2 separate regions of the Homo sapiens genome follow, and region 2 is linked to region 1. The links are contacts of gene promoters, found by promoter capture Hi-C in blood cells and fetal thymus (Javierre and others, 2016). All regions are on one chromosome and are shown on one strand. The core of a region is centred on a gene start or on the middle of the fragment in contact, and the rest is flanking DNA. Distances in the headings are between cores, read along the strand shown.

What was found. Contacts are between HindIII fragments. The CHiCAGO score rates a contact against its expected background, and 5 or more counts as called.
Region 2: a contact is called between a fragment that was not itself captured here and the fragment with the promoter of SERPINB1 in region 1, in 1 of 17 cell types (activated CD4 T cells). The highest score is 5.0, in activated CD4 T cells.

The regions. Positions count from the first base shown.
Region 1 is chr6:2,838,938-2,843,129 of GRCh38, reverse strand. SERPINB1 (serpin family B member 1) reads left to right here and starts at 1,267. Exons shown (of 7, transcript NM_030666.4): 1 at 1,267-1,318; 2 at 2,536-2,711. The coding sequence starts at 2,544. RefSeq lists a silencer at 1,323-1,372. The HindIII fragment of the contact is 1,424 bases long and covers 1,039-2,462 here.
Region 2 is chr6:3,355,622-3,359,766 of GRCh38, reverse strand. All of the region lies in intron 3 of SLC22A23 (solute carrier family 22 member 23), which reads left to right. Among named protein-coding and RNA genes, the nearest start is that of PSMG4, 99 kb to the right of the region's middle. RefSeq lists an enhancer at 2,734-3,624. The HindIII fragment of the contact is 903 bases long and covers 2,220-3,122 here.

The DNA of each region.
Region 1 (4,192 bases), core at 18-2,517:
GGATTGGGGCCACTGCAGAGAGCCCCAAATAGAGTAATATCTAGTGGAGCTGTGGGAACAGGGCTGTCCCTGAGAACCCAGAACTGTCCAGCCACCAGCATGCAAGTCTATCCTGGGAGAGCCTAGACCTCAACCTGTGAGAGCTGCTGCATGGGTTGCACCTGGCAAATCCATGGGAGTGGATCCCCTGGACACTAGGGGACCCAGTCTCCACCCCCCTGTGCTCGGAATGGGGGACACAGCATCAAAGAAGATTATTCTGAAGCCCCAAGATTTAATGCTGTTTGCCTTGTTGGGTTTGGACTTACTTGGGACCAGATACTCCTTTCTTCTTGCCTGCTTCTCCCTTTGGGAATGGGAATGTACGTCCTATGCCTGTCTCATCACTGTATTTTGAAGGCCTGTAACCTATTTGATTTCACGGGCTCATAGCTGGAGGGGAATTTCACTTAGGATGAATTGTACTTTGAATCTTATGCCTTTCTAATTTAGAAGATATTTAGGTGAGACTTTGGACTTACATTTTAAAGTTGATACTGGAACTTTGGAGGCCACTGGGATACAATGCATGCATTTTGCATGTGAGAGGGGTATGAATTTGGAGGGCAGGGGCAGAATGCTATGCTTTGAATGTCTGTGTTCCCTGCAAAATTCATGCTGAAACAATCCTCAATGCAATACTAACAGGTGGTGCCTTTAGGAGGTGACTGGATTATGAGGGCACCTTCCTCATGAATGGGATTGGCCCCTTATACGAGAGACTTCACATGAGATTTGGCCCCTTTTGCCCTTCCACTTTCCACCATTGAGGACGCAGCAGCAAGCTGTCATCTTGGAAACAGAGAGCAGGTGTTTGGAACTGGTTCTGTTTCATCTGATTCTGGGGGCCCCTCTTTTTCCCTGTGCAAGATCCCCAAATTTGCTTCCTTCTCTCAAAGAAAGCTCCCAATATAGATGGGACTCAAAGGGAGTCATTTGCCCTCTAAGAGGTGTCACAATATGTCGTCTCAGTCATTCACACCTTAGTAAGAAAAAGCTTTTCAGGTCCTTGCCAGAGATTCGGGGAAAGGCTTTGAACTGAGAAAGAAGCCGCGCCCCTGAGGAGGGCGCTGCCCGGAAGCCACGCTCACTTCTGCTTGCACTTAGGCGACCTCGGGAGCTCGGACTCCTACGCAGTCACCGGGAAGGGCCGCCGCCCCGCCCGCGGCTGCTGGCCCGGGTGACGCTTCCGCCTGCTATAAGAGCAGCGGCCCTCGGTGCCTCCTTCCTGACCTCGCACCCAGCTCGGAGCCCGGAGCGTGCCTCGGCGGCCTGTCGGGTAAGGCCGGGCCTCGGAGCGGTGGCGCGGGGGCGGGCGCGGGGAGAGGCCAGGCTCCCTCGCTCAGCTTCCAGCCCGGCACCCCCCACCCCCCAGGCTCAGGCCCCTCAGACCCGCAGCTCCCTGCGCTCGCCCTCCCCGCCAGCTTCGCGCCCCCATCCCTTCCGGGCGCCCCGACGGAGACAGACGACCTCTGATCCCCCGCCCCCGCCTGGGTACAGGCCGGGCCAGCCCGCGAGGGAGGGAGGGAGGGAGGACGACAGATGCAGGCGGAAGGCAAGACTGAAACCTGAGATCAGAATGTTGTCCCTTCTCCCTGAATTCCCTTCCTCCCAGAGCTGTTTGTGACGGTTTCCAGGCAGCCCAGGGCCAGGCCGCGGCTCCTATCTGCAGCTGCAGGGAGAGAGAGGAGGAACCCCGTGCGATTCTAGAGACGATTTCACAACAAGGAGAAATCAGCTTTGTGCTTACATGCCGAGCAGCCAGCACGGTTCTTCTTTGCCTGTCCTCGGGGGAAATCAGGGCTCTGAGAGTGGAGATCGAGATGGGCTAGTGGGTGGCGGATGGGACGCTGCACGGCCAGACCCTGGACTGTGGTGGGTTTCCAAACTGGCACATCCTACACCGGCTCTGAGACTGTGGGCACTGGACCTCATACCTTTTGAACCTCAAAAATAAGGAAGAATTATATTATTATAATAATTACAGTGATACCTTTGCTGGAGTTTTAATGCATAGTAGGTAGCTGAGTCTCTGATAGAAGGCTCTTAGTTCAGGTGAAGGTAGGCAATGGATTCATTGCCCAATGAATCAGAGACTTGAATCAAAGGCTCAGAAGCACGTGCGCTCCCACACATAGGTTGGGAAGACCCAGGGCTGGGTGGGCCCTCCCACCCCACTAAAGCTGGGGTAGCTGGGGCCTGCCTTACCCCCGCCCCACCCCCAGACTCACCTGTCTGCAAGGTCAGAGCCCTTTAGGGCACCCTGGGTGCCCTAAAATCCCCTATAACTGCTGAGTCCTTGGCCAGAATGGTCCCACATTTGTGGGCCTGGGAAAGTGTTCTTGCCCTGCTGGAATAAAAAAGCGGGGAGAAAGTACAAGATCCAGGATGCCTCAGGGCGGTTGGCAGAAATTGAGGAAGCTTCTGGAGAAATAGTGCTGCCTAATCTGCTGGCGTGGGCAGTGGGCACCATGAGGACCCTGTTCTGTGTTGCAGTTTTCACCATGGAGCAGCTGAGCTCAGCAAACACCCGCTTCGCCTTGGACCTGTTCCTGGCGTTGAGTGAGAACAATCCGGCTGGAAACATCTTCATCTCTCCCTTCAGCATTTCATCTGCTATGGCCATGGTTTTTCTGGGGACCAGAGGTAACACGGCAGCACAGCTGTCCAAGGTCAGCAGAAACAAAAAAAAGGGTCTGCTTTCCTCCCATCTCCCTACGAATGGACAGTCTGCATGGAAAGGTTGTGCCTTTGAGCTCTTACCTTGTGTTTTCAGAACTGTATTTTTATGAGATCAGACTTTCAGAAAAGTCACACTTGTATGCAGGCTTCCATTCATCATCAGGTTTTTCCTAAGTACCTACCACGTACCAGGAACTGTTTTTCGTATTGCTGAGGAGACAGCAGTGAGCAAAGCTGACAAAAATCCCTGCAGGGCGAGGCTTCTGTTCCAGTGGATGAATCTGACAGCTTTCCTGAAAGGCATACTACATCCTCCTGAGCTAGCATCTTCCAGTTTTTGCTTTGCATATGATGATATGCAACTCATAAATATTGCCTGTTATATAACACTACTTTCAAGCATAATGAGAGGAATAAGACATAGGGAATGCATTATAGTGGAGATAGTGGCATTGCTTTTTTGCAAGGAAAAGAGAAAAAGTGACCCTGTGGTTCTGTAGTCCCAGGGTGCTGCGCATGGCTCAGTGGGCTGTGGCATAGCACGCCCTGCAGGGGAGGTGAGGGGGAGACCCGCAGCTTCAGGGGCGGGACCCAGCCCTTGGCGATGTGACAGGTCACTCTCATGCCCAGCCTTCCTTCTTGTCCATAATGGACATGGAGAGGACTTCTGTGCTTGGTACTCTTTAATTCTGAGAAGAGAACTCTAGCTCTCTCTCTCTAAGCTCAGCAGAAAGGAGTGGTAAAAGTGGAGGCTCTTCTAACATACCTGCCGCAAATTACACTGCACCTGTTCCTTGGCAAGGTGCAGCCTGGGATTCAAGTTCAAGGGGCTGCGAAACTTCTATTACTCATCACTTTAGATATGAAAGCATTTTAAATGTTTTTTTTAAATCCATTAAAAAAAAAAAACCTCTGTTACTAATTGTTAGTTGCTTCTTGCAGGGTTATATCAGTTCCTAGCTTGAGGTTTTCCAGGGACTTTAAAACCTCAGCAAAGAATAGTTTTAAGGACTCCTCCCCCATTTCCATTAAAGCAGATGGAGCATAGGCACAGTGCAAACATTCCATATCTCGGTGAGTAATGTGGACTTCGTACCCTATGCAATTTTGTTCTTTGTGTCTTAATCATAAAGGAACCAGCCTAGGTCTCATAAAACCACAAAGGGCCTCTTGATTTGTAACTGATACATGGGGAATTAAACTTTTGCCAGAATGTTAAGTTTAAGGAAGTTATTTTAAAATAAGTGAGTTACTGATGTTAATAGGGTAATAAAATTTTAAAAGCTTCAGTCTGTACTATCTTTGTGGTTCTGAATAGAGGATGAATCCTATTTTTACTGCTTATTTCTGAGAACTTTCAGTAAAATTATATTTGATACAGAATATAAATATGAACATACCATTTATTATTTTCTTTGGAAAAGGCAGACTTATATATAAATATTTAGTATCTTAACCACCCACATTTGTG
Region 2 (4,145 bases), core at 1,422-3,921, 520 kb before region 1:
ATGCTGCCGTGAACATAGGTGTGCAAATATCATTTCAGGTCCTTGCTTTCACTTTTGGGGGGTTATACCCAAAAGTGGCATTGCTGAGTCAGATGGTAATCCTCTGTTTAATTCTATGAAGAACAGGGATATTGTTTTCTCCAGTTGGCTGCACCGTTGTACATTCCCACCAGGAATGTACTGGTGCACCAGGGTTCCAGTTTCCCCACATTCTTGTCAGCACTTGTTATTTCCTGTTTGTTTGACAGCAGCTACCATCCTGATGGATGTGAAGGGCTACCACATTGTCGCTGTGATGTACATTTCCCCGATGACAGTGACGTTGAGCATCTTTCCATGTGCTTCTTGGCCATCTGTATGTCCTCTTCAGTTTTTGTTTTGTTTTAAACTTGCACTCAGATGGATAGTTATATGTGTGACCTAAGGAGAACCACTCAGTGATGAAGAATAAACGTGGCAACACCAGCTAGCATAGCTTAGCAGCATCTGTTATCTGCCTGAGGGCGGTGAATTCCCAGTGAGATGCTCATTCTAGTACTGTCCTAGAATGAAATGAGTCTCAGCTGGCATGTTCCTCGCTCTCCTTCTCGGTGCCCATCTTTTTCTTAGTTGAAATGATCTGTGATTCTGGATGCAGCCCGTGTTGTTCTGGGACGTCTCTGTATTGCACTAAATTAATAAAGGAGCTTTCATTTTTGCAGTTATGTATTTTGAATTCCCTATTCTCTCTTCATCCTGAATGACTGAGACTTGATTAGACATCGGCACAGCGCACCTGACATGGCGCTGACATGGAAATGCAATGGGTGGCAGCTCGGGGTGCAGACCCCACCCAGGATGCTGTGCCCGAGGGGAGCCAGGGCTTCCCTTTGAAATGGCAAAGGTTCCCACCATCCCTCCAGCCCCCGATGGCAGATCCCTTCTCACTTCTTCCTCACTGGAGCTGTGACTCCTTCCGGTGTTTTCCTTGGGTTGATGAAACAGAAACTCTCCTGGGGCCTTTTTTATTTTATTTTTTAATTTTATTTGTGGTAAGAACATCTAACATGAGACCCACCCTCTTAACAGGTTTTTTCAGTGTACAGCACAGTATCGTGAACTATAGACACAATGTGTGCAGCAGAGTTCCAGAGCTTATTCATCTCGCCTGCCTGAAAGCTGATGCTAGTTGACGAGCAACTCCCCATGTCTCCCTCCCTCTACCCCCGGCAACCATCAGCCCACTCTTTGATTTTCTGAATTTGCCTATTTTTACATGCCTCATGTAAGTGGAATCATGTAGTATTTGTCCTTCTGTGACTGGCTTATTTCACTTAACATAATTCCTCCAAGTTCATCCACGTGTCGTACGTGTCAGAATTTCATTCGTTCTTAAGCGGAATCATATTCTATTGTATTTTTCACTGTGTTTCGTGTGTCCCTTCACCTATCAGTGGACCTCTGCGTTGTTTCCATATCTTGGCTGTTGTGGATAACACTGCAGTGAACGTGGGAGCGCTCACGTCAAGTGCTTTGAGATCCTAATTTCAATTCTTTTGGATAAGTACCTGGAAGTAGAATCACTGGATCATATGGCAGTTCTAGTTTTAGTTTTTTGAGGAACTGCCATACTGTTTTCCATAATGGCTGCACCATTTTTGCATCCCTACCAACAGTGTTTAAAGGTTCCAATTTCTCTCCATCCTGGGGACTTTGATACTGAGAACCTAACCTGTCTAGCCTCTTCTGCACTGGCCGCCTTTGCAAGAGCTGGTTGCCTCTCTGAAAACTCTCCTCCCAGGCCTCTTCCCTTCCCCTCACCCACATGGCAGGACAGTCCTACTTCCTTTTCCCTTAAGGGAAGATTCAAATGCTGCTTCTTTGGTGAAGTCTTCCCCAGGCCTCGTCCCTTTCTTTGCATTCCTGTAGCACAGAACCCCATCTGTGTCTTATAGGCACGTGTCTCTTCATCAGACTGTGAGCCCCTTGAGGCCGGTGGTGTGGCTTCATCTCGGCATCTCCCCTGGCATGGTGCTACCTCATCCTCCTTGCTGAATAAGTGAATGAAATGCATTCATTATACACAGCCGCCTTCTGTTTTCCATTATTTGTCATTATTCAGTGTGTTCTGTGAACCAGGAGCTGGGCATGGCTTGTTGAATAAGAACACAGTCCCTAAACTAAGGAGCTTTTAGGCTGGTAACCAAAAAGGGAAATTCTAAATTTTTTTATGATAAGCTTTTAGATATCTTTTTGATATTTAGAATGAAGTAAACACAGTAGATGTAGTCCAATTTTGGAAATCATTTAAGACCTGAGCCTAATTGAGCAGGTAGAAAGCCAGGAAGAACACACCTACTTTGTATTTGCAGTCCTTTCCTCATGCTAATTGATAAGGCGATTAATCCTTACACTATTGCTGAGCCACAACCCCATTTAAAAATAAAAATTAGGAAAGCTGTCTGGATAATTATTAGCAAAGACTTTACAGAGGCTGGGATAAGTCCTCCAGCTGGTTGTTTGCACTGGGAGTTTTACAGTGTACTTGACCTTTGCTTAAGGTAAGGGAGTTTGTTTGGCAAAAACAATGATACATATTTCCATGGCATTGGAATCCTGCTGGATTTCTGAGACTCTGGGAATGCAGATGTGGGCACTGGAGTAAATGTGAGCATTTCATTACAGTGCCTGCCTTGTTTTGGGTTTTTTTTTTTTTTTTTTTTTTTTTTTTGGCTCTGTTTTGGTTTTCTCTTCCAGGCTGTATTGCTAGGTTTACTGCTTTAAAATTGTCTTTATGGTCCAGGCTGCTGCAGCCTTTAGAACAAACCACGACAGTTGGGATCTAGAAGCCTGCGCCTCTCCTAGAGACACCACCTGCATCACAGTGTCGGTGACCTGACCTTTGAAGGGGCCATTTCCCATCTTGGAAATGGGGATACTACTTGATATTCTTATTTATAGGATTTGGTGAGGGCATATGAGGTAACACATCCACAGATGCTCTGAAGGGCTTGAGCGGGATCCTGCACCTTATTACAGGTGGTTGTTGGTATCTTGGGCAGGTTTCAAGACCTGGAGGTTCAAGCCAGCCCATCTCACTGCTGAGCCAATAAGGAGGAAGACAACAGGGTTACAACAAAGCTTCAGGCTTAGGAAGAAATGTTTCACGTGGATGGTGTCCTGGCCAGCGGGTTTGGTTCTAAAATAAACACTACTGTCTCTGGGGCTGAAGATTTGCCCAGGACAATGAAGCAGCCAGCGGGAGGGTAGTGCAGAGCCGGTAAGTTTAGGGTCAGCTTTATTTTCACAGGCAAATGAGGAAGTGAGAGGCTGCTAAAATCACTCCTCTGAGGCTTCCCCTGCCCCTTGGATGAGGTCGCTGCCATCTCTGAGATGGGGGTGTGGCCTGTTACCCTTGTAGGCACCGAGGGTGGATCTAAGACACTGTTTTACCATCCAATCCTGTCAGCGGTTCCATGGCCCACCGGTTTCCTTTTGAATGTTTCCAGGAGCCAGAAGTCCAGATCCCAAGGGCTGGCACGCAGAAGGAGGGCCCTCCCGAGAGAGCACGCGTGCTTCGATTTCTTTCGTGATTATGAGATGTTTCTGATGTCACGTGTATCTGCTACCCGGACTCGGAAACAAGCCTCATTAATAAGTCCCACCCTCCCGCCTCCACCCACCCCCGCCTCCTCCCGCCTCCTCCCCCTCCCGCGCCCCCCGCCTCCTCCCCCTCCCCTGTCCACAAGTCTCCCCACCCCGTTTGCTGTTTTTCATCCTCATGAGTTTCGTTAGGTTTTCCCACATCTAGAACACTGCGTTGTACAGTTTTGCCTTTAAAAAAAAACTTCCTACAAATGCTGTCGTACTGTGTTTGTTTTTCTGAACTTCCTTCTTTTTTTAATACCTCAGCGTTATATCCAGTGGCTCCTCCGTGTCGATGCGGAGACAGGGAATGAGTGAGAGCGACGCCGGCTTTGAGAGCTGGGGTTTGTGCAGGGCTGAGTGAGACCTTGGGCTCCCGTGGCCCAGAACTTAAGAAATAGCAAATGAGAATAGTAGATGAGCCAGAAATTGAGAGTAAATTTGGGAAGGCACAGAAAGGACTGACCAGGCATCAAGTGGCCTAGCTCTGGAGCCTGGGAGTGGGGCTGATACAGGGAGCG